Regions from separate parts of the Homo sapiens genome. Here regions 1, 2, 3, 4, 6 and 7 are each linked to region 5. Evidence: promoter capture Hi-C in 16 types of primary human blood cells and fetal thymus (Javierre and others, 2016). All regions are on one chromosome and are shown on one strand. Each heading gives the region's core, a stretch centred on a gene start or on the middle of the fragment in contact. The rest is flanking DNA. Distances are from core to core; before and after follow the strand shown.

The links. The method cuts DNA at HindIII sites, captures the fragments that hold promoters and counts their contacts. A CHiCAGO score of 5 or more calls a contact.
Region 1: a fragment that was not itself captured here is called in contact with the fragment with the promoter of CCDC184 in region 5 in 1 of 17 cell types (M1 macrophages); the score reaches 5.7 in M1 macrophages.
Region 2: a contact is called between a fragment that was not itself captured here and the fragment with the promoter of CCDC184 in region 5, in 2 of 17 cell types (megakaryocytes and erythroblasts). The highest score is 5.3, in megakaryocytes.
Region 3: a contact is called between a fragment that was not itself captured here and the fragment with the promoter of CCDC184 in region 5, in 3 of 17 cell types (M1 macrophages, megakaryocytes and erythroblasts). The highest score is 7.0, in M1 macrophages.
Region 4: a fragment that was not itself captured here is called in contact with the fragment with the promoter of CCDC184 in region 5 in 11 of 17 cell types (fetal thymus, naive CD4 T cells, non-activated CD4 T cells and 8 more); the score reaches 19.6 in fetal thymus.
Region 6: a contact is called between a fragment that was not itself captured here and the fragment with the promoter of CCDC184 in region 5, in 2 of 17 cell types (fetal thymus and naive B cells). The highest score is 7.6, in fetal thymus.
Region 7: a contact is called between a fragment that was not itself captured here and the fragment with the promoter of CCDC184 in region 5, in 1 of 17 cell types (M1 macrophages). The highest score is 5.1, in M1 macrophages.

The regions. Positions count from the first base shown.
Region 1 is chr12:48,562,486-48,566,176 of GRCh38, forward strand. It overlaps OR5BS1 (olfactory receptor family 5 subfamily BS member 1), which reads left to right. Exons shown (of 2, transcript NM_001396061.1): 2 at 309-471. The coding sequence ends at 471. Among named protein-coding and RNA genes, the nearest start is that of OR5BS1, 4.4 kb to the left of the region's middle. The HindIII fragment of the contact is 6,527 bases long and covers 1-3,691 here.
Region 2 is chr12:48,661,379-48,665,581 of GRCh38, forward strand. The region is part of intron 7 of KANSL2 (KAT8 regulatory NSL complex subunit 2); the gene reads right to left. Among named protein-coding and RNA genes, the nearest start is that of SNORA2B, 4.1 kb to the right of the region's middle. The HindIII fragment of the contact is 205 bases long and covers 1,902-2,106 here.
Region 3 is chr12:48,580,158-48,584,074 of GRCh38, forward strand. No RefSeq gene overlaps it. Among named protein-coding and RNA genes, the nearest start is that of LALBA, 12 kb to the left of the region's middle. The HindIII fragment of the contact is 3,177 bases long and covers 331-3,507 here.
Region 4 is chr12:47,707,587-47,711,705 of GRCh38, forward strand. It overlaps ENDOU (endonuclease, poly(U) specific), which reads right to left. Exons shown (of 10, transcript NM_001172439.2): 9 at 4,047-4,119; 10 at 2,148-3,333. The coding sequence ends at 3,216. The region is part of intron 1 of RPAP3-DT (RPAP3 divergent transcript); the gene reads left to right. Among named protein-coding and RNA genes, the nearest start is that of RPAP3-DT, 3.6 kb to the left of the region's middle. The HindIII fragment of the contact is 7,938 bases long and covers 1-4,119 here.
Region 5 is chr12:48,181,767-48,185,961 of GRCh38, forward strand. It overlaps CCDC184 (coiled-coil domain containing 184), which reads left to right and starts at 1,878. Exons shown (of 1, transcript NM_001013635.4): 1 at 1,878-4,160. The coding sequence starts at 2,357. The coding sequence ends at 2,941. The HindIII fragment of the contact is 3,853 bases long and covers 1-3,473 here.
Region 6 is chr12:47,755,324-47,759,065 of GRCh38, forward strand. RAPGEF3 (Rap guanine nucleotide exchange factor 3) reads right to left here and starts at 3,557. Exons shown (of 28, transcript NM_001098531.4): 1 at 3,228-3,557; 2 at 2,543-2,755. The coding sequence starts at 3,233. It also overlaps a transcript of SLC48A1 not described here. RefSeq lists enhancers at 285-454, 485-554, 2,768-3,436, 3,437-3,742 and a silencer at 3,377-3,726. The HindIII fragment of the contact is 222 bases long and covers 2,175-2,396 here.
Region 7 is chr12:48,636,133-48,640,252 of GRCh38, forward strand. LOC124902928 reads right to left here. Exons shown (of 1, transcript XM_047429953.1): 1 at 2,178-4,120. Among named protein-coding and RNA genes, the nearest start is that of SNORA2C, 16 kb to the right of the region's middle. The HindIII fragment of the contact is 3,272 bases long and covers 702-3,973 here.

The DNA.
Region 1 (3,691 bases), core at 861-3,360, 380 kb after region 5:
TTTACTTTTTATCTGTCCCCAATATTAATTCTGTTCTAACCTGCAACATTTGATATGCTGCAGAACTGCTTGTTCCTCGGGGCAGCTCCTATAACTTTCTGTGTGAGCTCACTTATGTTTGGAAGTGTTTGAAGGCAGAAATGACTGACTTTTCACAGATCAGCCATTTCTAGATGCTGCCACCAGAGAAAGTCAGCTCTGAAGACCTCCTTTGCAGAGTCTTTGCAGGGAGGGGATGAATTATTGCTGCCAACAGTGAGAATTGTCACCATTGTCATAAGTTGCTTTTCTGTACAATTCCCTTCAAGGTATATGATTCCAGCATCTGGCTCAGCCCTAGAACAAGTGCTCTCCGTGCAGTACAGTGTGATAACCCCCCTGCTGAACCCCCTCATCTACAGTCTGAAGAGCCAGGAGGTAAAGGTGGCTCTGAGGAGGATGCTGGCCAGGAAGTCCAGGCTTCCCTTGTAGCCCAGCGTCCCTGCCTCAGCAGGAGGAAAAGTTATGGGGAAAAAAGGAGGGAGGAAGAGCTATCACCACTCAGCTACCTCAACATTCATCTCCTTCCAAAACAGAGACCTTAGTTTATCTTCCTCCAATGCCCTGTTCCCAGCCAAAGGCAATGAGGAAACTCTCACAGAGCAGGTAGCACCCATCAGAGGGGGTCCAGTCATTATACAAGAAAATCCTCAGGGCATCCAGGGCATCCTGGCCATTTCTACAGCTAATACTTTTTCCTCTCATTTCTTGCCTTTTTGACCCCTCTTCTTCCTGCCTCTCCCTCTCCCTTTTACTTATGTCTATGCACAAAAGGTAAATCGACCTATCAGACCACTAGCAAATGTCCTTCTGCATTCTGGGATAGTCCCATCTTGGCACTGTGACCCAACTCCTCTTTTGTTCTCATGCCAAAAAGTCCCTGGAAAGATCTACATCCCATAACAACTTAGAAAGAAGTCAAATAGGCCGGGCATGGTGGCTCACACCTGTAATCCTAGCACTTTGGGAGGCCGAGGCGGGCAGATCACAAGGTCAGGAGATCAAGACCATCCTGGCCAATATGGTGAAACCCTGTCTCTACTAAAAATACAGAAATTAGCCTGGTGTGGTGGTTCATGCCTGTGGTCCCAGCTACTCGGGAGGCTGAAGCAGGAGAATTGCTTGAACCTGGGAGGTGGAGGTTGCAGTGAGCACTCCAGCCTGGCAACAGAGCAAAACTCTGTCAAAAAAAAAAAAAAAAAGAAATCAAATAAAATAAGAGTGTCTCCTCCTATCTTCATCCTTAACAAGTAGCAGCTAAAGTAGAGCCTAAGCCATGTGTGGTGGCACATCCCTGTAGTCCCAGCTACTCGAGAGACTGAGGCAGGAGGATCTCTTGAACTCAGGAGTTTGAGGCTGTAGTGTGCTGTGCTCACACCTGTGAATAGCCACTGTCCTGTAGACTGGGCAACATTGTGAGACCCCATCTCTAAATAAACAAATAAATAAGTAAAGTAGTACCTAGCAAACAGCATATCCTCAATAACCACTTGGTGACAAATCAAGCAGTGAAGGAAGGAATGAATGTGGATCACCTGAAGTCTTTTCTCTTGCATGATCCCAGGAAATGGGAGGAGGGGAGTATCCCCCTCTAAAGTATAAGGGTCTTAAGAGAAAAACCTCTAATAGCTTCTGTATACCCAATATCTAGTACCTCCTGTCACCTAATAGGCTCTTAATTAGTGTTCAATAAATGAAAAAAATGAATGGATGAGAGAGAAGGAGAAGTGGGAGAAGAAACATGAAAAGAAATATTTGGGGCCGGGCATGGTGGCTCACGCCTGTAATCCCAGCACTTTGGGAGGCTGAGGTGGGCGGATCACCTGAGGTCAGGAGTTCAAGACCAACCCGGCCAACACGGTGAAACCCCAGGTCTACTAAAAATACAAAAATTAGCTGGGCATGGTGGTGGGCACCTGTAACCCCAGCTACTTGGGAGGCTGAGGCAGGAAAACTGTTTGAACTTGAGAGGCAGAGGTTGCAGTGAGCTGAGATTACGCCACTGCACTCTAGCCTGGGCAACAGAGAGAGAGACTCCATCAAAAAAAAAAAAAAAAGAGGCCAGACACGGTGTCTCACGCCTGTAATCTCAGCACTTTGGAAGGCTGAGGAGGGCGGATCACCTGAGGGCAGGAGTTCAAGACCCACCTGGCCAACATGGTGAAACCCCGTCTCTACTAAAAATACAAAAATTAGCTGGGCGTGGCAGCGCATGCCTGTAATCCCAGCTATTCAGAAGGCTGAGGCAGGAGAATCGCTTGAACCCAGGAAGCGGAGGTTGCAGTGAACCAAGATCGTGCCACAGCACTCCAGCCTGGGCAACAGAGCAAGATTCCATCTCAAAAAAAAATAAAAAACATTTGATTTTATCTAATGCAATTCCTGTCTTCACAACAAGATAGGTGTCAGGGAAAAGTAGCAGGGAGGAGAAAGCAGGATAAGAGGAGAGAACAAAACTCTGTATTGCTGTGAACCATTTTGAGTCTTTCTCACACAGAGCTCAGTAAATGGTCTGCTCTCTGAGAGCCACTCCCTGGAGCCTACCCGCTTCCCAATTAGTCTGGATGACTTCAGACCTTTGCTTGGCTTAGAGCTTCATTTTAGGCCTAAGGGAAAGAGACAGAGGTAGAGAAAGCAGAACCGATGCTCAGCTGCCATGCTGCCTCCTATTCAGCTCTCAAGAAAGTTCTCAGGAAGAGAACAGCAGTTTCCTGTCCTGCTTCTACCCAAATGCCAAGAGAACTGCATCTATCAAGCCTGCTTCTATGTCCAAAGAAAAAGAAAAGTAATCATGTGAGGCGATGATATGTTAATGAGCTTGACTGTGGTGATCATTTAAGTGTATACATATAACAAAACATCAAGTTGTACACCTTCAACATATACAATTTTTATTTGTAAAAAAGGAGGAGGAGGAGAAGGCGAAGAAGACTACTGGCATGTATGTCATGAAGCTGATCCAGCCATACCTCACTGGATAAAGGAGGCAGTGTATAGATTTATTGATTCATTTTCTCAAAAGAATTCTTAATTCAGTGGACACCATATTAGACATTGAAATTTAAAAAATGTACAGGCCAGTCACTGTGGCTCACACCTGTAATCCCAGCACATTGGAAGGCCGAGGTGGGAGTTCAAGACCAGCCTGAGCAACATGGTGAAAGCCCATCTCTACTAAAAATACAAAAATTAGCCGGGCATGGTGGCAGGCGCCTGTAATCCCAGCTAGTCAGGAGGCTGAGGCAGGAGAAACGCTTTAACCCAAGACGTGGAGGTCTCAGTGAGCCAAGATCGTGCCACTGCACTCCAGCCTGGGCAACAAGGGCAAAACTCCATCTCAAAAAATATATATACATAAGCTAGTGTGGGGAAAATAAGTACAGACTAGGAACAAGAGAGAGTTTGCCTGAGAATTCCAAATGCAGACCCCAAATGCCTTTGGTAGTGTTGCTTGTACCAAAGAACATGGCATTTTGTTTGTTTATTTGATTTAATACATGGATTATTTTACAACTCAACACACTACAATTGAACTGAATATAAACACAGAAAAACTGCTCTGTAGTACTAGTACAGAGTAGGCATCTATAAACATTTGTATCATAACCCACTGTAACAAATGAATAATTGAAAAAAAGAAAAAGATGTCTTT
Region 2 (4,203 bases), core at 754-3,253, 480 kb after region 5:
AAGCTCTGTAGGATGAACCAAAATTGAGATGATTAGATACAATAAAATTCAAGTTACTTTACAAAACACATTTTATGCAAGTGCTACCATTTCTTGAAATCTGTTAACTACCTGGTTATCTTCCTAGATTAATAAACATTATTTTAAAATTTGACTTATTTTTAACCAGAAAACACAATTTTTCTTAAACTGATAGTACCTGAATTATGGAGTTATAATTTTCAACTCAAAACTTTTATGGTAATTTTTTTAAATAAAAAAACTAACATACATTATAATTTTTAAAACCATATGAACTTCCTTGAATAAAGCTATTTCTTTCAATGCATACTTGGAAATAACTAAACTCTCAAGCAGGGTGTGACAACTGTGGCACTACCAACACTGTAGGCCAGGTACATCTTTGTTGGAAGAAGGATGTATAGCAGCATTCCTGGCCTCTATCCACTAGCTGTCAGTAGCACCTCCATCTGAGTTGTAACAACCAAAAATTTCTCCACACATTGCCAACTGGAAAACAAAATGGCCCCCAGTTGAAAACCACTACTCTAAAGAAACAGAAGATAGTACAAGGCAAACAAATATTTATTGAATGATCAAATGAATAAACATATGAATCTAATGGGAATCATCAGATTTGCACTATGCGCTTAAGAAAATCTAAGCAATATCTAATGTGCTTAAGAAGCCCACTCTTAATATTTAAAATATTATCCATTAAATGTTTCAACCAGAAATTTTTTTTACACGAAGTCTCGCTCTGTCACCCAGGCTAGAATGCAGTGGCGTGATCTCGGCTCACTGCAACCTCTGCCTCCTGGGTTCAAGAGATTCTCCTGCCGCAGACTCCAAAGTAGCTGGGATTACAGGCACCTGCCATCACACCCGGCTGATTTTTATACTTCTAGTAGAGACAGGGTTTCGCCATGTTGGCCAGGCTGGTCTCTAACTCCTGACCTCAGGTGATCAGCCCGCCTCAGCCTCCCAAAGTGTTGGGATTACAGGCGTGAGCCACCACGCCTGGCCAAGAACTTTTTTTTATTGGAATTCAAAGGACTTTCACAAGTCTCTTATGTATTTAATACCACAATATCCTAAAAAAGGACTCCCCCCATCATCCTCCACCCGCTTTCCTTTCAGATGGGGCAAAAGAGGTAAAAAGAAGGGAATGGTTAACCTACAACTAGAGTCTGGGTCCTTCACTTTCAGTCGAGTGCTGTCTCCATTAGACCACAGTAAAGAGTTAACAGGTCACCAATGGCAGTCGCATCTTTCTCTGGGATAAGGACTTAAGGAAGGGTAAGTGACTTAGGCAACTATGGAGTGGAAAGGAAAGAGCATAAAAGGAAAAAAAATACTTCCCTTCTCTTTTCAAATACATTTTCAATTTTGCTTTATATTTATATTTTAATAAGCTATTTGACTACAGTATTATAATATCTAAAATAGTCCTTAGTATCTGTAAACTGAGTTTTTTCCCTTATAAAAGTAATTCATGCTCGCCTTAAAAAAACAAAAAATAAAAGAACAGTGAAAAAAGGGCATTCACAACCACACCATGCACAAATTATCACATTTCTGTATTGTTCCCTTCCAGTATTTGGTTTCATGCAATTTCAGACACCGTACAGAATTCCATATCCTGGAATGTCACTATCATTTTGCTGTCATTCATAAATTCTGTTAAATATATTTAATGCCTGAAAATATTCCACACTATGTTGTGTCATTAATTTATCTACCTATTCTCCAGCTCTAAAAATGTTAAGGCTGTCTCAAGTTGGAAGAATATTTCATGTAAAAATATTGGTCTGCATTTGATTATCTCCTTAAAATAAATTCCCAGAGGTAAAAATTACCATATGAGGAAATATGAATTACTGTCAGATTGCTTTCCAAAAAGCTTTTATCTATTTATATTCCCACTGGCAATATTTAGAAGGGTCAATTTCACCATACTCTCACCTACTTTTGAAATTCACTGACTCATTTTTGAAAAATTGTATATTTTAAATTTTATTTTAAAACAAATATATGTACAAATATCAATTTTATAGATTTTTAATTTTCCTTATTTCCTATTTACAGTTGACCTTTAACAACACAAGCTTGAACTGCACGGGTCTACTTACACGTGCATTTTCTTCTGCCTCTGTCATCCCACAGACAATAACACTTCCCCCTCCACTTAACAAAAAGACCATGAGAATAAGGACCTCTATGATAATCCACTTCCATTTAATAAACAGTAAATATATTTTCTCTTATGATTTTCTTAGTAACACTTTTTCCTAGTTTATTTTAAGAACACAATATATAAGACATATAAACATATAAAATATGTGTTAGGAAGCTATGTTGTTGATAAGGCTTCTGATCAACAGTAAGCCATAAGGCTATTAGCAGTTAAATTTTGGGAGAATCAAAAATTATATACAAATTTTCAACTGTGTAGGGGGTCAGCACCCTAACCCCATGAATTGTTCAAAGGCCAACTGTATTTATAGTGAAGATACACACTTTTAACTATTAGCCTTTTTTTTTTTTTTTTTTTTTTGAGACAGAGTCTCACTCTGTCGCCCAGGCTGGAGTGCAATGGCACGATATCGGCTCACCGCCTCCGCCTTCCGGGTTCAAGCGATTCTCCTGCCTCAGCCTCCCGAGTAGCTGGGATTACGGGTGCCCATCACCACGCCTGGCTAATTTTTGTATATTTAGTAGAGATGGGGTTTCACCATATTGGCAAAGCTGGTCTCGAACCCCTGACCTCAGGTGATCCACCCACCTCAGCCTCCCAAAGTGCTGAGATTACAGGTGAGAGCCACTTTGCCCGGCCCTATTAGCCTTTTCTATCTTCTTTTAAATCTGCCCATAGCCTCTGCCCAATTATGTTTTAAGCAATTTTTTTTTTTTTTTGACACAGAGTCTCACATCTGTCGCCCAGGCTGGAGTGCAGTGGCGCAAAACCTCAGCTCACTGCAAGCTCCGCCTCCCAAGTTCATGCCATTCTCCCACCTCAGCCTCTTCAGTAGCTGGGACTACAGGCGCCCACCACCGCACCCGGCTAATTTTTGTATTTTTAGTAGAGATGGGGTTTTGCCGTGTTAGCCAGGATGGTCTCGACCTCCTGACCTCGTGATCTGCCCGCCTCGGCCTCCCAAAGTGCCGGGATTACAGGCGTGAGCCACCGCACCTGGCCTTTTTTTTTTTTTTTTTTTTTTGAGATGGAGTCTCACTCTGTTGCCCAGGCTGGAGTGCAGTGGCGTGAACTCCTCCCACTGCAACCTCCACCTCCCAGGTTCAAGCAATTCTCTGCCTCAGCCTCCCAAGTAGCAAGGATTACAGGAACCCGCCACCATGCCTGGCTAGTTTTTTTTGTATTTTTAGTAGAGATGAGGTTTCACCATCTTGGCCAGGCTGGTCTTGAACTCCTGACCTCGTGATCCACCCATCTTGGCCTCCCAAAGTGCTGGAATTACAGGTGTGAGCCACTGCGCCCGCTTTTTTTTTTTTTTTTTTTTTTTTAGAGACAGGGTTTTCCTCTGTCACCCAAAGTAGAATGCAGTGGCATGATCCTCACTTCAGCTTCAAACTCCTAGGCTCAAAAAATCCTCCCAGGTAGCTAGGACTACAGTCACATGCCATCGTGACCAGATAATTTTTCTTTCTTCTTTTTCTTTAGAGATGAGGTCTTACTGTATTGTCCAGGCTGTAAGCATTTATCTTTAGAGTTTTTCATTACTTTGCACAACCATTTTATATATTAAGAACAATAATCTCTTATCAGACATCTGTTGTAATTAATAAATTAGTAAAATATTTAATAAGCAAAATAAAAATCAGCTTCCTGTCAAAAGACTAAGAAGAGGTTCTCCTTCTCCTCTCCCTATTAAAGAAAATAAGTGGCCGGGCGCTGTGGCTCATGCCTGTAATCCCAGCACTTTGGGAGGCCAAGGCAGGCAGATCACAAGGTCAGGAGATCGAGACCATCCTGGCTAACACGGTGAAACCCCATCTCTACTAAAAATACAAAAATTAGCTGGGCACGGTGGCAGGCACCTGCAATCCCAGCTACTTGGGAGGCTGAGGCAGGAGAATCGCTTGTACCCAGGGGAGTGGAGGATGCAGCAAGCTGAGATCACGGTACTGCACTCCAGCCTGGGTGACAGAGTCAGATTCTGTCTCAAAAAAAACAAATAAAGA
Region 3 (3,917 bases), core at 669-3,168, 400 kb after region 5:
TCAGGAGGTTGATATGAGAGGATCATTTGAGCCCAGGTTACAGTGAGCCATGATCATGCTACTGCACTCCAGCCTGGGCAACAGAGTGAAACTCTGTCCCTAAAAAGAAAATTACCAAACACAAAATGAACTATTATGAATGCAAGTGAGGAGAACCAACTCCCCTCCACTGAAAAGAGCCACCTTGCCCAAGGGACACATTTACTTCCCAGAAGCAGTTCACATCCAGTGGCTGGTTGATGTGGATAGAGAAGCTTGGCCCCTTTGCCTCAATGGAGGACAATTTTTCACAGCCATCCCAGTTCCAGAGGCTCTTATGAAATCAGCTGAAGCTTTGTTATGACTATATCACAATTCACCTTCTTCTGGCCAATCCTGCTTTCTTCAATCTTTCACCTCACAGGTGTTGAGACCACGCGCATTTCCCAGTAAACTTCCTGCACGCAAATCTCCATCTCAGAGTCTGTTACCCAGGAAACCTGACCTAAAACAGTTGGTGTCAGAAGTAGTTCAAGGCAGCAAGCTCTAAAATGAGATTTGGAAACCCTGTGGAAATGGGCTGCCATTCTCCCTGACAGTAACATGACCATGGTATGGTGCTGTCTCTGATACATAGAATACATGAACCTGGGAACCCAGGAGTAGACATAAAACTGCCCTGTTCACCGTCACTCCTAGTGACCTATTTTGGGAATCTGTACTTCCTGTCCCTGTCACGTTGAGCTCTATAGCTAAGAGATATTAGTTCTCAGTTCTAGGAAACGTAGTGGGTGTCCCATTAAACTTTAAGCTACAGCTGCAGCTTCACGTTTCTCATGCTAAGAGACTAACAAGCATGAAAGACTCACTATCCCGGAAGGGATGACTAACCCTAATCATCAAAATTAGCGATGAAGAATATGTTTGGCATCCAGGTGATCCATTGTGGTGTCTCTTGGCACTTCCTTGCCCAATTTTTTTTTTTTTTTTTTGAGACAGAATCTCACTCTGTCACCCAGGCTGTAGTGCAGTGGCATGATCTCAGCTCACTGCAACCTACACCTCCTGGGTTCAAGTGATTCTTGTGCCTCAGCCACCCAAGTAGCTGAGATTACAGGTGAACACCACCAAGCCCAGCTAATTTTTGTATTTTTAGTAGAGACGAGGTTTCATCATGTTTTGGCCAGGCTGGTCTCAAATGTCTGACCTCAGGTAATCCACCTACCTTGGCCTCCCAAAGTGCTAAGATTACAGGCGTGAGCCACCATGCCCGGCCTCCTTGCCCAACTATTTTTTTTTTTTTGAGACGGAGTATCGCTCTGTCGCCCAGGCTGGGGTGCGGTGGCACGATCTCCGCTAACTGCAAGCTCCACCTCCCGGGTTCACGCCATTCTCCTGCCTCAGCCTCCCGAGTAGCTGGGACTACAAGCACCTGCCACCATGCCCAGCTAATTTTTTTGTATTTTTAGTAGAGACGGGGTTTCATTGTGTTAGCCAGGATGGTCTTGATCTCCTGACCTCGTGATCTGCCTGCCTCGGCCTCCCAAAGTGCTGGGATTACAGGTGTGAGTCACCGCGCCCGGCCCAACTTTTATTGTAAATTATAAACTCAGCAATTACAACCTGAGAAGGGAAAGGTAACCAGGCTTTCAGAACTTTAAGGATGAAGATCTGAGTCAGACCACAAGGTAAGCCACTAGACTAGCAGCAATACCACTCTAGAATAAGAGGAATCTAGAATGAGTAGTAAGGGACAGGTGCAGCCTAGAGACCAGTTGCAGCAGTGGGAGCTGTAATTAATTCCACTGTTAAATGAAATAACAGAGAGAGACCTTCTAAAAGAAAAAGGTATTTATTTGGCAATAAGCCTTTGCAATGGGAATACATATGCCATAATAAACTATGTATATATTCAGGGAGGTAAAGGAAGACAAAAGTTTTTAAAGGAAAAATGAGGAGGATTATACACAATTGTTTTGAAATTATTGGCAGGGCATGGTGGCTCATGCCTGTAATCCCAGCACTTTGAGAGGCCAAGGTTCAGGCGGATTGCTTGAGCTCAGGAGTTTGAGACCAGCCTGGGCAACATGGCGAAATCCTATCTCTACCAAAATACAAAACATTAGCCAGGCGTGGTGGTGCGTGCCTGTGGTCCCCGCTACTGAGGAGGCTGAGGTGGGAGAATCTCTTGAGCCCAGGAGGCGGAGGTTGCAGTGAACCAAGATCACGCCACTGCACTCCAGCCTGGGTGACAGAGCGAGACCTCACCTCAAACAAAAACAGAAATGAGATGATTATCCTTGGCTATCAGGGTCAATAACAAGGGTGACGCCAGTTCAAGGCTGAACAGACAGTTGCTGGGCAAATGCCTTTGCAGAAGTATTTTTTGTGTAGGTTGCAATGGACTTTGCAAGGTTGTGATTGTTGCCATCTCTTGGGATAGTTCTGTTATCAGGCATACAAACATGAGAACCTTTCTGACAACTTTCACACCACTAAACTTCTTTCAATTTTCCCCATGAAAAGACATCACCAAAATCCTGAAAGAGCTACTCCCAGAGCATATGCAAAGCAAGTGGGTCCAAGCAGCACACAAATGGATTCCAGTGGATGCTACAGTGCACCAACCAGATTCCCTCCACCCCTTTCAGGATTAAAGCAGTGGTTCCCCCAGCTGCTAGGAGAGCTATCTGCTGATAGCACTCAGGTGAATCCCAATCTGAAAATTATTCTCAAAAGGAGAGCCCCTTTGCCTCAGTGAGAGACAAGTCTGCAGGGCCATTTCAGCTCCACAACTCCCCACAAGATTGGCTGAGCACTTTGTTGTGACTGCACCAGAGCACAGCTTGTCCCTGTCACCAGTCCTACTTCCTTCAGCCTCCCACCACCCCACCCCACAAACACACACAGATGTTGATTCCAAAACCACTGTCCAATCAACTTGTACACCAGTCTCCATCGCAGAATGTTTCTCAGGGGAGCCTGACCTGTGACAAAAGATAATCACTGCTTTGTGGAGTTAGATATTCAAAATTAAAATGATGGAAAATAGAAGCATGTAAGTTGGGCAATATTTAGAGTGAAAGTTTCCTAAGGCCTTGCATTCTATAGGGAAATAGTAAAGATAGTAATTCACTTCAGAGTTTATTAAAAGTGCATTATCAAAATTTTCAGGTAAACTAGTAAAATAATAGAAAAACAAAGATTCCAAACCCATATAGAAACAAAATAGAATAAGAAAATAACAAACAAAAAATAGGACTAAAATATCACAAAAGAACTAAAAAACAATAACAGAAAGGTATCTGGAAAATCCCCCCCAAATATTGGGAAGTTAAAGGACATACTTCTAAATAACTAATTGTCAAGGAGGAAACCTCAAGGGAAATTAAGAAATATTTTAAGTGGAATGAAAATGAAAATATAACATATCAAAATTTGTGGGCTGCAGCTAAGGTAGTGCTTAAAAGGAAATTTATAACATTAAATGCCTATATTAAAGAAGAAAAGTATCAAATTAGAAATCTAAGCTTCTACCTTAGGAAACTAGAAAAAAAGAAGAGAAAATTGAACTCAAAGCAAGGGATTAATCTCTCAATAATTGATAAGACAAGATCAAACCAGTCAGTATAAGATTTTAACAATACAATTAATAAATTTGACCTAATAGATGTATATACAACATTATATCAAATAACTGCAGAATATACATTTTTATAATACAACCAGGACATTAGAAATTGTGAACTTAGCAATGTTTCAGACTTAACATCAGTGACTCCATCTTAGGCTACCGACTCCATGTTGAACTGTTTGATGAATGTTGAGACCCACAAAGGAACTATGAAACACGTTTCCTTCACAAACAACCATACTCTTAACAATATACAAGACAAGGAAACTGGTCCTTATCTTTAGGAACACTCTATATGAAATCA
Region 4 (4,119 bases), core at 1,345-3,844, 470 kb before region 5:
TGAGCTCAGACCTAGGCCACCTTAAGTTCTTTCCTAGATTCCTTGCAGACCTCCCCACTTCTATTGGCAGTTATCTTTAAATGGATTTCAACAAAATGTGTAAATAATGCCTTTCTTTTAAGTCTCTTTTATTCATTTACTCCAGTCATCTCAATTGAACTTATCATTAATACCTGAAGAGTTATTTTCAAAGAGACAAACCTCTTTATGTGTTTTATGTGTTGCAGTTGTAATGGTCAGTGGAAATAAACAGGAGTGTTTATTATTGCAACAATAAAATGCTGCAATTAATGATTGTAAATGCTATTAATTTTAATATCCAAAACAATTATTGGGCTCTTTCAAATAGTTAAAGAGTCTGACAGTTAATGTAAATCTTAAGAAAGGAAGTATTAGCTAAGTAACTTTAGGAAGAAAATGAACCTTGGGACTTCCTGTTATGGAGATACTATGTTAAGTTTGGTTGCATGTGACAGAAAGCCCAAAATAAGAGTGGCTTAAACATGAAAGATTATTTTTCTTTCATGTAAAACTGAATATAAGCAATCCAGGATTAGTGTGACAGTTTCGGTGTGAGACCCAGGCTCCTTCCTGGCTGCTCTGTGATCTTCAGCATATGGCTTTCATTCATGGTTCAAGCTGGCTGCTCAAGCTCCCACGATCTTGTCTGAAATCCAGTCGGCAGAAAAGGGCAAGAGTGGGAATAACGGTACCCCCTGCCCATTAAGAATACTTCCTTTTGCATGCCATTGGTGAGGACATAGACACACGCCTACTTCTGGTTGCAAGGGAGGTCAAGAGTCTGTACTCTTGACAGTCATTTGTGTACCTAAAAACTGAGACTTCAGTGAATAAGGAAGAAGAGGAGAGCAGATACTGAGGGGTAACCAGCAGCCTCTGTCAGGGGTCTTAATAAATATTCTTTAAAAAATAATGAATGAATAAGTGAGTAGATACTACTAGAAATCCAGGCTCACTACAACATGAGGAAAAGGGTTGAATTTTGCAATCCTGATTCTGCTACTGACTAAGAATGTGGCTTAATCTGATCCTCAGTTGTCTAGGTAAAATTAAAGTGGTGAAGATAAAAATACCCACCAGAGTGAGAAAATGAATATAAAAGGACTACTTAGCACAGCTTGGGACATGGTAACAGCTTAACAAATGTTAGTTCTTACCTTTCTCTCCTGCAAAGCTAAGGCCCAGACCCTGGAATACAGTACTCTCTCCTGCATTTCTGTCTTTCTGTCTCCTACTGGACTACCTGGAAGACCTCTGAAGAGGCCTATGAAGAGCACAAGTACTGGGCACCAGTAGGTGAAGGTTAAGGCTGATAGCAGGGATAGTAAATTGCCTCTCCCAGTATAAAATTAAATCTGTATAATAAGTGAGACAATAATTACTATAAGAAAGACTAGCATGTTATTTCACATTCCTTATCTCACAACAATGGTAATATTATCCCCATTTGACTGGTGAGGAAACAATCTGAATAATTAAGAAATTTGCTCATATGGCCAGTAAGCAACAGAGCCTGGCTAGGTACCTGGGCAACATGACTTCAGAGCCTGTACCTGTTACCCCTGTGCTCTACTGACTCACTGTCTTGCCTATTGACTGTGAACATCTCTGGGAAAGGGCAGGACAAGGCCCTGTTTCATCTATCTGCAGGCTATAAACTTGCCCGAGGTATCTCTTCATACCTGACCGTTTTCTAGCATTGTGGCTTGAGTAATCTGTTTACAGATAAGAAGTCTTTTTCTGTATCTCTTTAGCATCTCCTCTTCCCCCAGTGTGGTCAACCTCTGCAACCACAGAAGCTACATCCAGAAATGTCCTTATACTCCTGTGTATTTGATAAAGGGGACTGGTTATTGGGGATGGGGACCACCAATCTCCATTTACCACCCCCCCACCGGCCGCCTCACTATCTGTATGCAATGATCCTTCCACTCTTCATATTACAGAATTCTCTTCCCCTCTTGGCTAGAGAGACTTAGTGAGTCAACAGAGACTTCACCCAGATACCACATTCTTCAAGCCATTCTGAAAAGACTCTAGAGCAAAAGTATCACTGCCAGCCCTGCTCTAGGGAAAAGGCAGGGAGACAGACATTGGAGGGAGGCCATATACAAAGAAGACACTCATTTCAAGTTTTCTTCAATGACTTTAATTGGAAACTTGAACCTTCTAAACCATAGTTCACACCCGGCTCTGTGGTACAGCATTTAGTTCTCAGTGGGGTTGGGGGACAAATGCATAATTGAGGTTAAAATAGGGAACTACAGTCTCTCTGGTCTCGTAGAGTTATTCAAATTATGGCTGCTGGATAAGGCTTAAAATAATTATGTTAATGACACCAAGCTATGGGTTCCTTCTTCTTCTGATGCTGAATCATCCTCCTATGAGGAGAACTCTTTCAAAAAAAAATTGGGGATCAAAATACAAGTCTGTGGCTGCACTAAACATCCACAAGTGGGAAACTTCTTGTTGCAGATACTGAGCTGGACACAAAAACACTCAGGCCTGGAGAAGGCCACCCCACCCCCAGCCCATTCACTGCACCAACCTATTACCCTTCTCCATTCAGCATTGGAGTTCTCCCAGACTCTGTTCTGAGAGGATCTAACTCTGGAAAAAACCAAAGGCCCTTGCTTGATTACTGTGGCCTTACTTCTTTGAGGACCCCAACACAGGGCTGAGTGGTAGTTTACAGAGCTGTGTATAATAACAGCCATTATAGTAATCTTGAATTTCTATCAGCTGTTCTTCCTAAGAACAACTGAAAACACCTTCACAGTAAAAATATCAGGGTTTGCCCTCTCACCAACCCCAAAAAGAGGAAAGTGGGCAAACCCCTTCCCTTTACATTAAAGGGAAGCATGAGGCCTGGTGAGGTCAAAGGACTTCTTCCTAGTTCCCCCACACATCAGGGCAGAGAGCTATGGAGGGTTCCTACCTTCTCTGCTTGGACTCTGTTTCTTAGTCAACATTGCCAAAATTCTAGAGGATAAAGGTTTGACTGTTTATCCACATTTTTCTAATTTGTACATTTTATCTCTTTCCCATGTGGGCACTTTGGGATTTAGGAATGCTTCTCATTGCTTTGAGATTTGGTGATCCCTTCCAGTCCTCTCCCTCTTCTCTCTAGTCCAGAGAAGATAGCACTTCAGTCTCGCAAGAGCCCTCATGCCCCTTTCTGGCTCGAAGTTCTATTAGGTGGAAGACACTATGTAGGCTGTGGCGATGTACTTCTTGCCATTCCCATAGGTGGACTTGTCCCAGGTATATGTCCGGACAGCTAAGGGATATCCTCCCAGGCTTAACTGGCACCTGTGGGGAAAGAGCCTGAAATCAGAGGAGCTCCCCACTTCACGCTGCCTCTCCCTGGGCTGGAAGGATCAAGCCCAACTGAAGCAGAAGGGCTCCATTCTGCTTAAACAGCCTTAAAGACAGAGCTGGCACTGCTTTCTTCAGCAGCTGCCTCCAGCTCCCCATGTGCAAGGAGCCATTTCAAAATCTTTGCCTTATTTCTTGTCTTCTTAAAGAATGCTGTTCCTCATCTTTCCCAGAGCAATATTCCAAAATCCCAGATTCTGGAGGTGAAATCCTTAGAAATTAAACATTTGCTTAGGGTTTCAGAAGTGGAAGAACTCAACGTGTCCGAATGTTAGAGAACTTGAAGCCCAGTGGTTCCTAATGGTACTTTCTGGAGCTCTAGGTTCCCCTAAGTAGCCTCAGGGGACAAATAAAGAGGCTGAGAGCTCTAGGACAACTCCATTTCTATTTCATATATTAAGGTCCTGCGTAAGATTTCACTTTGGGGGAATGAGGGGAGATAATTTTGCTGCTAAGATGAAGTTTGGCAGCCACCAAACCAATCCAAAAACTTAATTGTTCAAGCAAGAGAACTGAGGCCCAAAGCACAGATTTGTCCAAGCCCTCTCAGCCTCTTTGTGGCAGAGTCCAGGTCTCTTGACTCTGTGATGGCTGAGGACAGCCTGCAGCCCCAGTCTGCCCCCAGGCCTGGCTGGCCCCATTCTTACACTTTGCCTGGCCTGGCGATGAAGCACAGGGAGTAGAGTGCAAACTCAAACTCAGGGCTGCTGCCGATGAAAG
Region 5 (4,195 bases), core at 628-3,127:
ATGGAAACCAAGGAAAAGCATTTCTGTCCTCTCTTGAGCCAGAGTTTCAGGAGTAATCTAAGGTGTTATTACCACGTGTGGGGTACAGAGCAGAGGTAGGAGTCCTAAGCAAGGTGAGAGTGCTGGAAATCTGTAGAATGAAGGAAGAAATGAGCAAGCAAATAGAATTGAATCATTAGTTTCAGAAAATACAATACTGTGTTTTTAAAATTTGTTCATATATTTGTTTTGGGAAATCAAATTTTTAATGGCTGCATAATACTTTATGTATCAGCAATTTTGCCTTAGTTTATTTAAACATTCTGCTGCTGGTCATTTAGGATAGTCCCCACTTGTTTCTATTTTAAAAGCAGTAAGATTGGTATAGGTCAAGCAGTCCTCTAGTGTCACAAAACTTTCCCTGGGCCAGCCTCACTCTTCATCACCAAGCACATAACCAGGGAAACCCAAAGGTAACACATTTGCTGTCACTGAACCGCCAGTCTACAAAACACTCACCTTTACGTAGTTCTTCTCTATCTTGAAGTGATATAGTTTGTTTCTCTTTCCCAGATTTATTCTTATGAACTTCATTTTTGGCTTCCGATCACTTGGCTTCCCTAATTTCCTAGGGTCATTATTAATTATTGTGCTCTGCCCAGGTGCTGATTCCTTCTCAATCTGCAATCATCTACGTATATTAAAGACAATTTTTCTTCTTCCTCCACCCTTCCTGCTCCACCCCTTAAATAGGGAAAGGGCTTGTCACAAAGGTTGGGGATACTCAGTGTATGTCTGAACTTGGGCACTGAAAGAGAGAGCGGGAATTACTCTAACACACAGTCCCCCCATCCATACCCTCCACACAACGGTCAACAGTTTACCTTTTCACCTGTGAGATGATGCAGACTGTTATTCAGAATTAGAAATAGTATTATAGATTATCCAGTCCAATTCCCTAACAGATGAGGAAAATGATGTGGCCAAGGTCGCTGAATGAATAAGTGGCAGAAACGAAACTGAATTCAGGTCTCCTAAAACCCACTACGTTTGGCTTGGGGAGTTCTGGATGAGAGCGTGGGACTTGGTGGTTTTTGTTATTCATTCAATAACTATATTAAGCATCTACATACTAGGTGCCAGGCACTATTTTAGGAGCTGGGGATTCCGTGATGGAGGGTGCAGGGGAGACAAAAATCTCTCCCCTTATGGAGCTTTCATTCTCAAAACTTAAGCACTTGGCCTCCCCATCTGGGACAAACTCCCAGAGACCTGCGTAGGAGCGGTAGGGTCTCATAAAGGAGGGAGTCCCATCCTTCCCCCGCTCCGGTGATTTCTATAGCTAGAGGGCTGATTTACTGCAGAAACCTCCGTAGCGCCCTCCTCCTGCCTCTGCACCGTCAGGCCCGGTGGGTCCGGCTCCAGAGCGCCACCGTGCCCCAGCTCAACTCTGGGATCATTAGCAACAGCCTCTCTACCCTCTCCGCTTTCCTGCGCATCGCTGGAGGACAGGGAGGCAGGACTCGACTTTAGCGCCATCCTCTGAGAAAGGAATGCGGGCTGGAAAAATCTTTCCAGGGCAGTCTCGCTGGGTCTCATACCCCGGCTAGGGGAGGGACGATCTCTCCCGGACTTGGAGGTTTCTGCAGCAGACGGCTCTCTCATACTTCCCTATTAAACATTGCGACCACACGCTCTTTCCAGCCTTGGCCGAAGCCACTGTAGCGTCCCCTCTCCTCCCCCCACCCCGCTAGTCCAGACTCCAGAGCCCCACTGCAGCTTCCAGCCATCCTCCCTTTTTCTTCGCCACTTCCTGGTTACCATGGAGACACACGTCATTTACGTGCCGTGCGTCGCCTTGGAAACAGAGGAGCATCCGCGACACCCCCGGGAGACCCACCCCAGCTGCTGCTGCCACACTCGCGGGCGCTGCCCGGTAATGGCCTGGGGGAGTCCCGAGTCCGACGCGCCGCTGGCCTCAGCCTGGACGCGGACCCCTCCGCGAGCGCGTCTGTGACCCACGGAACCGGCAGGCGCTCTCTGCTTGTGGCGCCCAGAGGGCGGCGCTGACACGGGCGCGATCCGGGAGGCGAGGCAGGGCAGGGCACTTTCGTCCCGGGGCGATCCCAAGAGACGCCGGCTCTGGGACCCTCGCCGGGTCCTCGTCCCGCAGCCTCTTCTCGGCCTCCCGCGATCCTGCCTGCGCCCTCTGCCCAGGACTCGTCTCTCACGTCGGCTCCCCGCCAGTCTCGGGAGCCTCCGCTTCCCTCGGCTCCCGCTAGCCCCTCCCGGGACCTCTCCCCCTCCACCCCCTCCCCCACCCCGGAGGCCGGGCTGGACGCGACCCAGAGCCTCCGCCACCCGCTTCTGCCACTCAATGGAGGACGGTCTGCTGGAGATCATGACCAAGGACGGCGGCGACATGCCGGCGCCCCTGGAGGTGTCCACCGTGCCGGCAGTGGGGGACGTGATCTCCGGGGAGTACAACGGCGGCATGAAGGAACTGATGGAGCACCTGAAAGCCCAGCTGCAAGCCCTGTTTGAGGACGTGAGGGCCATGAGGGGGGCCCTGGACGAGCAGGCCTCGCACATCCAGGTGCTCTCGGACGACGTGTGCGCCAACCAGCGAGCCATCGTCTCCATGTGCCAGATTATGACCACTGCGCCCCGCCAGGGCGGCTTGGGCGTGGTCGGCGGCAAGGGGAGCTTCCAGAGCGACCCCCAAGAGCCGGAGACTCCTTCGCCTGGGATCGGGGACAGCGGCTTGCTGGGTCGCGATCCCGAGGACGAGGAGGAAGAGGAAGAAGAGAAGGAGATGCCCAGCCCCGCCACACCCTCCAGTCACTGTGAGCGCCCCGAAAGCCCCTGTGCTGGTCTCCTTGGGGGGGACGGGCCACTTGTGGAGCCCCTCGACATGCCCGACATTACCCTGCTGCAACTGGAGGGCGAGGCCTCCCTGTGAGGGGACTCCGTGGGGCACTACCTTCCCGGGCTGTCTTTGGGTTTCCGAGTGCATGACGCGAGGGGGACTGAACGGCGCGGTGCGGCATGCTTCACTTGGACAGCTGCTCTTGTGGGTCAGGCAGAGAGAGACTCCCTCGAGGAAGGATTTGTAGGGTGAAGGACTTTGGGAGCATCGAGAATTCTTTCTGCCCAACTAAGCGAATTATAGCGAACTGCGGAAAGGTGAGGCTCCGGGAGAGGAAGCGCCCATCTCTGGACTCCCATCCATCCCTATCCTGTCCTTTCCCCCTTCCCAGACAACAGGAGAACCCGTGAATTGTGTAAATAAAATTCTGCTTTTTCTATTCTGAAAAAGGACTTACCTAGGACCATGGCAAATAATCTCTAACAATTTACCTGGAAATTAAGGAATTGGGGGTATTTTGTTCTGGCAACAGGAAATTTACCCTTCTGCTGAAATCCAAGATATTCAGTGCTCTGCAGAAGCCTCTCCCCCTCACAGATCTCTGCGGCTGCTGATTGGTAAAGGAAGCTTGAGGAGGGAACTGCAGCCCTAGGAATCTGGGTGAATGGGGTTCCAAGGGCCCCTGGGCTGGGAGGAGCTGGCTATGAATGTGCATGAAGACATAATAGCTCAACCTCTAGGATTTTGCATGCAGAGCGGATCCTGCCTTGTCACTGACTTCATCTGGGATTGCTTTTCCACTCCCTGGGGCTTAGAGAACAAAGAGCCCGGTTCACAGGCAGAGACTCGGGGGTGCTCAGCAGCAGCCCAGATTTAGGGGACATTTGAGGGACTCTTGGGGCCGCAGCCAAAAACTGTCTCTCCTGGCTACACCTGCTTAACTTCAGTTCCTTTTTCTGTCAATATGTCCTTGCCCACTGCCTCTCGGTGTTGCCTTCATAATGTCTTGTGTGTGTTATGTGTGTCTACTTGTGTAGTAGTGTGTGAGCCCTCAGGGGCAGGGCTTGTGGCTCTGGTGTTAGGTTCAGGGGCTTCAGACCCTTCTACGAGCTCCAAGCTATCAATGGCGCTTTTCTCTCCCTCTTCCCCCAACCAGGGCATGGAGCATGTGGCTGTCCTGAGGTTCTTTTACTGATGTGCCGCCCTTCCACCTCCTCAAGTGGTGACTTTGTGTGCCCTCCCCCTCCTTTGTGTATTCCTTCTCAATGCTTTCCTTGGTGTTAACCTTAATAAAAAGGCGTCATCTCCCCTCCTTGCTGACTGGTACTAAGGGGATATCAGGGTGGG
Region 6 (3,742 bases), core at 1,036-3,535, 430 kb before region 5:
TGATAAAGGCAAACCTCTTTCAATAATGTCTGGCACATAAGTACTGTATAACTATTAACTACTACTATTATTTGGATAGGTTGAATGAAAGTGCGTTCTCGGAGTTACAAAACAGGGCCACTTCCCCAAGAACAGTCACACAAAGAGAATCATCTCAGACTTCCCTGAGCTAGTAGAACCCACCACAGGTCACTCTGATCTTGCCCCTGCCCCCGGACATCAGACAAGATCTCACCTCCCCCTCTTATTTTCCAAAGATGTTCTTCCATCCCATTCCAGTGTCACTTTTGCAATAGCTGTTAAGTCTTATCTTAGTCTGTATCTAACTGCAAGCCCTCCTACTGTAACCCGCTTTCATTTTCTCTTGTCCTGGTCTAGGTAGGAACAGAAAGAGCTGTCTTCAGACTTCTTCTCTGGGAGGTTGATGGGTTTTCCCCTTGGCTTTCGAAGAGGGAGGTCTGGCCTCAATAACTGGCAGTGCTGTCTTCCTGGGACTCGGGCTCCACCCCTTCACCATGGGCGTGCATGCTCACAGCTGGCACTCATTCCCTCACGGAAGCCTTCCCTGGGCTAAAGGCATCATCAAGAGGTAAGAAGTACAGCTTCACAGGTACCCAGAGCCTCTCAAATATAGGCATGATGGAATGAAACCTCCCCACCCCAGTCCCCAAAGTTGGTCATCAGAAGAGGGAGTGGCCGCCTGCCTCTAAACACTAAAAATCTAAGTTCCCTCTAGTCACCAACGCCCACCTGGCACGGAAAGGCCTTGTTTTGGTGCCTTTGACCCCATTTACACTCCAGCAACCTTTACCCCCACCTTTCTGGCCTTCCCCTGCACACCAGCCCTTCATTTCTGGGGGCTGTGGAGAGTCAGGAGACAGCTTGGTGGCCTCCTCCACTCCCTCCCAGACTTCAGGTCCCAGGAGATCCTCCAGTGACCTATTGTCCTGGCACCTGACCTTCTCCCTACCCCCTACCTTGCTTCCACAAGCTGGGAAGGGGACAGGAAATGCACAAATAATTATAGCCCAAGAGGGAAGGAGGGAGGGAGGGTTCCAGCCCACTGGCTCCAGGCAATAGCTACAGCCAGTGACCCGGAGAGCGGAGAGCCGGAGAGCCAGAGGGGTAGCGGAGGAGGACCCAGGCTCATGATAAGGAAGACCCTAGTAGAGAACAGCTCTACCAGGACTGACATGTGGACTCTCCTCTCAATTCTGATTGCAAAGAGGAGCCCCTCATCTTGGTAGGTCTCAGTTTTTTCAACTCAGCCTCACTGTAAATGGCAGTTGGGCAAGGTAGGGGGAAGGAGGGAGAGGGTGGTGGTTATTCCACTCAAAAGGACTTGCCAATAAGAAGTGAACTCTCGGCTAGGCGCAATGGCTCATGCTTGTAATCCCAGTGCTTTGGGAGGGCGAGGTGGGCAGATCACGAGGTCAAGCGATCAAGACCATCCTGGCCAATATGGTGAAACCCCATCTCTACTAAAAATACAAAAATTAGCTGGGCGTGGTGGCGCACACCTGTAGCCCCAGCTACTCAGGAAGCTGAGGCAGGAGAATCACTTGAACCTGGGAGGCAGAGGCTGTAGTGAGCCAAGATTGCTTCACTGCACTCCAGCCTGGTGACAGAGGAAGACTCTGGTTAAAAAAAAAAAAAAGAAAGAAAAGAAAAAAGAAATGAACTCTCCCGGCCAAGCGCAGTGGGTCACGCCTGTAATACCAGCACTTTGGGAGGCCAAGGCAGGTGGATTGCTTGGGCCTAGGAGTTCAAGACCTACCTAGGCAACATAGCGAAACCTGGGTGGACACACGCAGTGGAGACATAACTGAATCTCAAGCTAAGCTACTCTATTTAGTCTGGATGGTTGGGGATAGCTTCTCTGCTGATTTGGATAGTACAGCCATTATCTTGCCTCCCAAATCCCACCATTCTTTCCCCTCCCTGCTCTCTCCTTCATTCTTTCAGGTCCAGAGATGTTTCTCACTAGCAAAGGGCACTTTGGTGATCTCAGATTCTCCAAATGTCTCAGAATCCTTCCCTGAGCCCCCCAAAGGCAGGTACCAAGCAGTGTCCACATGATCACCTCACCCTAAGACCAAAACGCAGAATTAGCACAGTTCAGTAACTCACTAAAGGAGAATGTTGCCACGGTGATGCACCCAGAACTGTAACCAAGCTTACCTCACTCCAACCCATTGACCCGGCCCCCATACCTCCCACCTCCACCTGGAAAGAACACACAAGTACCTAACTCAATGCCGGCTCACTGAGGTGACAGATAAACAACAAATCCCTTTCCCCTTCCCCCCATGCCCAAACAGAGACATTTGGGCAGAACACACACACAGACACACACACGTTGCAGCTGTGTGAGCCACCCACGCACACTGCAGACAAGCTTCCTGACCCAGTGTCCACGGCAGCTGTACCACTGTACACCCCCAGAGCAAGCTGGGCCACCAGCAGCATGCCAAGCCATGATCTAGGCCCCCCTCTAGCTCTGGTACTGGCCCTGGCACCTGGGCAGGTGAAAGGTACTCACCCAGCGCAGCCCCTGGATGCAGCTCGGACGCTGGTGCTCCAGCAGCAGCTGGTAGGAGCAGCTTCGGGGCCGGTGCATCCTTCTCAACACCATGTTGAGTAGTGTCCCCTCCGGCACCACGTCAGGGAGGGCTCCCACCCGCGGTGCTCCCAGAGCTGGGCTATCCTCCACAGCCAGGCCCACCTGCCAGCAGCTCTCACCTGGCCAGCCCACCTGTGACACGGGGAGGAAAGTGGACAGCCATGGGACACGACTGGGGCGGCTGGGCCACAGTACAACTGCCCCAGGCAGAACTACTTCCTTAGAGTCCTCTGGACTGGTCAGGCGGAGGTGCTGCAACCCTGCCAGGAGCTGGGGGGAGGAACAGGAAGACCTTCACTGGGGCCTGCCGGTCTGGCGCACTTAGGGGTCTCCAGCTGGCTCTTGGAAAAGATCAGGCCCTTCTTAGTCCTCTTTGGAATTCTGTCCCATCTCACTGCCCATGCCCCTGCAGGGATCTCCACTACCTCCCAGTATGAAGCTATAGATTCACTAGGTCTCCCAGAAATGCAGCTTCGGCTTAAACCCTTCTCCTCTCCTCCTCAGCCCTGACTAACCCTCCCTCTCCCACCCAAACTCCCCACCGTGTCAGCTTCCTCTCCCGCCCTCTCCTGCTCCTCCTCAACCCTGACCCCACCTTACCCACCTTCATGTTTCTTTTCAAGCTCGCACAGCCGTGCAGGCTCTAGCAAAAGGCTGGGGGGTCCCCAGCGACCCCCATCAGCTTTGATAAGGGGATCCGGAGGGTGCCAGTGGGTAAGTCCAGGTACAGTGAACTGGGCCAGTGCCTAGCTGGACTGGCTGCCAGGGCAGCAGGATGCAGGGCTCGGTGGAGAGGCTCCTCTTGGGTGAGTAGAGGGGTGGGGGCGTGGTGGGGGGACGCCACCCAGCCACCGGCGACAGGGAGCCCCGAGCCTGCGCCTTCGTCTCAGACGAAGGAGCCAGCTGGCACCGGGCGCTGAAGCAAGGCTGCGCTGGCACCGGTCCGGGCGGGAGCTGTCACACCCCCTGCGCTGCCCGCCCCCTTCCCCTCCCCAGGACTGGCGGAGGGGGCGGGGTGGAGGCGCCCTGCCTTACGGTAGAGGAATGCGTAGGGGAAGGGGGCCGGCACTGGCAGGCTTTGGAGTCCGCACCCGGGGGTACCAGAGTGGACATCCGCCT
Region 7 (4,120 bases), core at 1,088-3,587, 450 kb after region 5:
AGGCAGCTTTTATGAAGAAAAAACCAGACATCTCACATGTCCAGATATCAAGATCTATTACAATGCTATGGTAATTAAGATAGCATAGTATTGGTGAAAAGACAGGTGAACAGATGAGTGGAACAGAATGGTGACTTTCACAAATATGATCACCTGACAGGACAAAGTTGGCACTGTACTGATGTAAGGAAAGCATGGTATTTTCAATAAATGGCAATGATTCGGCTGGCTACCTATGGCTGCTTTTGTTATCTTTTGCTCATCTCAAAGCTGTCTGTGGTATTAGAAGAGCAAGAAACATACACACGTCTATGATTGTAGCCAGCAAGACATGAACTTTTCTGCCCATTTAAAAAAACAAAACAAAAAGCAGTAGCAGAGGTAACAGTGGACTTTTTTGATCATCCCCAAATCTGGATGTAAATTGGACTTTGAAGCAGTTTGCCTCAGAGCGCTGAATTCAAACACATGTCCTAAAAACTTGACCTACCTTTTTTTAATGCTGCATCCAAAGAGCAAGTGCAGAGGGAAGGGGGCTACACTAAAAGAAAAGCAAGCAATCATTTTGCCCCACAGTAGAGACCACCCCAGGGCACAGTGGCCACTAGTAGAAGCGGCAGTTCTCTGGACAGGAAAAACTGCCATTCCATACAGAAGTAATGCTTTGATCTTCCACTGTATTATTTTATTGAAAGCCAATAAGCTTTCTTTATTAGGAAGGAGATGCTGGGCACGGTGGCTCACGCCTGTAATCCCAGCACTTTGGGAAGCCGAGGCAGGTAGATTATGAGGTCAGGAGATTGAGACCATCCTGGCTAACATGGTGAAACCCCATCTCTACTAAAAATACAAAAAATTAGCCGGGTGTGATGGTGGGCGCCTGTAGTCCCAGCTACTCAGGAGGCTGAGGCAGGAGAATGGCGTGAACCCGGGAGGCGGAGCTTGCAGTGAGCCGAGATCGCGCCACTGCACCCCAGCCTGGGTGACAGAGCAAGACTCCGTCTCAAAAAAAAAAAAAAAAGAAAAGGAAAGGAAAAGAAGGAAGGAGATTAGGAAAGATTAGGCTTGTTGCTCTCATTTTTGTTCCAGCAACACTGACCTCACGGTTAAAGGGGAAAAAAAGAAAATCCTTGATTCCTTTGCTGATGACTACGGCCAAGAGTAGGGGAACTTTGAATAGAAACTTCACCAGAGACACATGGATGGCAAATAAGCAGCTGATGAAAAGCTGCTCAACTCATTAATCATTAGGGAAGAGCTAATTAAAACTACAATGGAATATAACCACACCCATTAGAATTGTTAAAATTTTAAAAAGGCTGACCATATATGTGTCCCTCCAAAATTCACATGTTGGAACCTAATATCTAATGTGATATTACTAAGAGATAGGGCCTTTGGGGAAGTGATTAAGTCTTGAGGGCTCCACCCTCATAAACTACTTAGTGCCTTTATAAAAGAGGCTTCAGAGAGCTGCCTGGGCCTTCCTTCTCTTCCATGTGAGGACACAGCATTAGTCCCCTCTTGCCCTTCCACCTTCTGCTGTGTGCCGATGCAACAAAAAGGCACCAACTTGGAAGCAGAGAGCAGCCCTCACCAGACACTGAACCTGCCATCATCTTGATCTTGGACTTCCCAGTCTCCAGAACTGTGATAAATAATTTATTTTATTTCTAAATTACCCTATCTGGCCAAGCACAGTGGCTCACGCCTGTAATCCTAGCACTTTGGGAGTCTGAGGCGGGCGGATCAGAAGATCAGGAGTTCAAGACCAGCCTGGCCAGCATGGTGAAACCCTGTCTCTACTAAAAATACAAAAAATTAGCTGGGCATGGTGGCGCACGCCTGTAGTCCCAGCTACTCAGGAGGCTGAGGCAGAAGAATTGCTTGAACCCGGCAGGCAGAGGTGGCAGTGAGCCGAGATCACGCCATTGCACTCCAGCCTGGGCGACAGAGTGAGACGCTGTCTCAAATAAATAAATATATAAATTACCCTAAAGGTATTTTGTTATATAGCAGTACACTAGACTGAGACCCTAGACCCAAAAAAATGCATATTATATAATTCCATTTATATAAAACTCAAAAAATGTAAACTAATCTATGTGACAAAAAGCAGAGTAGTGATTGCTTTGGAATAGGGAATAGGAATGGGAGAGAGAGGAACTCAAGGAAAGTTTTGGCGTGATGGATATGCTTACTATCTTTATTGTGGGGATGGTTTCGTAAGTGTATATATGTGCCAAAAGGTATCAAGTTGTACACTTTAAATAGGTGCAATTTTTTGTTTGACAATTATGACTCAATAAAGCTGTTAAAAAATAAAATTGGTAACAGTCAACCACAAATAAGACAATAAAATATAAATCTCAAAATTGCTCTATGGCTAAAGAGAAAGAGGTTTGACTAAAACTTTGAGTTATATCCAATGAATGTGGAATAAACACATTACAAGAATATGAACTCATATGGGGCACAACGTAAAAATTATCTCATTGATGAATCTATTTGCATTCTTATGCCAGCTCTTCCATTAATTACTTAGTGCTATGAGTTGAATCGTGTCCCCCAAAGAATGACATGTTGAAGTCCTAACCCCCAGTATCTCAAGAATATGACCTGGAAATAGTGTCATTACAGATGTATTAGTTTGGTGCAAAAGTAATTATGGTTTTTGCCATTTTTAATAATTAGTTAAGATGAAGTCATACTGAAGTAGGGTGGGCCCCTAATCCAATATAACTAGTGTCCTTATAAGATGGCCATGTAAAGATAGAAAAACAGAGAGAACTCCTTGTGACAATGAAGACAGAGATTGGAGTTATGAAGCTGCAAGCCAAGGAATATCAAAAACAGCCCACAAACCAGCAAAAGCTAGGAAGAGGCAAGGAAGAATTCTTTCATTCCTACAAGTTTCAGAGAACATGGCCGTGCCAATACTTTCAGCCATCTAGTCTCCAGAACTGAGACAAATTTCTATTGTTTTAAGCCACCCAGTTTGCTGTTTTGTTATGGCAGCCTTGGGAAACTAACACACTTGGTGTTACTGGTAAGTAGTTAATATTTCTAGGCCTTGATTTCCTCACTTTTACTTAAGAGGGTTGGACCAGATTATATATAAAATTACTTGGGAAAATTCATTAGTCTCTTATGACCTGGCTGCCTCATCTGTAAAATGGAGATAATTATATAACAATGCCTGGCACATGCAAGCACTAACTGTAAGCTGATAATTACACAAACCAGTAATAGCAGTAGTGACTCTTTCAGTTCTGGCAATCTATGGCCTATAACCAATCCCAAAGGATATGAGGTTTATATGTCCAGTGAATTCTAGAAACAACAATTCAACAGGAAGAAAAATACCCTACAGTTTTTGGATGAGGGCAAAATAAGGAGTCAGACAACCAGAAAGGAGTCCTAAATAGCTGTGACAAAGGGTCAGACACAGGAAGGCAGGCATTCTCATAGCAGTAGGTCCTTCCACTTCCTCCACTACTTTACATTTCATGGTAAGCCCATCCCAACTTTACCCGAGCCCCTCCAGGAGTGAGAACACTCTCTCCCATACAGGTTCCTGCTGCTAAGTGGCTCACCCAGTCTGATCATGGTACCACTTTTATTAGATTTTTCTACTAATTATTCAATGCAAATATACACCAGGCACTACACAGGAGAAGGGATACAGCAGGGAGTAAAACAGTAAGTCCCTTATTACAGTTCTAGAGTCTAAAAGGGGAAACAAACATTAAACAAATAATTTTACAAATACTCATATATTACAAATGTGAGGGTACTATGAAGACAAAGGACAGAGAGCACATCCACGTCAGGGGTCAAAGGACAACTCCCTGAGAAAATTAATTCTAAGATGAAACCTGTAGGATAGGTAGAAGTTAACCAGGAATAAGTGTCAAAGATAATTTGGAGGAAACAGGCAGAGAGGAAAGGTATGTGCAAAGCTCTAAAGCAAAGCTTTCCACATTTGTGGAACAGAAAGAAGTCATGAGAGATAAGGCTGGAGAGGTAGGCTGGAGACAGACTGTGTGGCCATCATAGCCCATAGCAAGGAGTTTGATCTTCACCCTAAGTTCAAGGGGGAGTTACTGAAGGGTTTTTA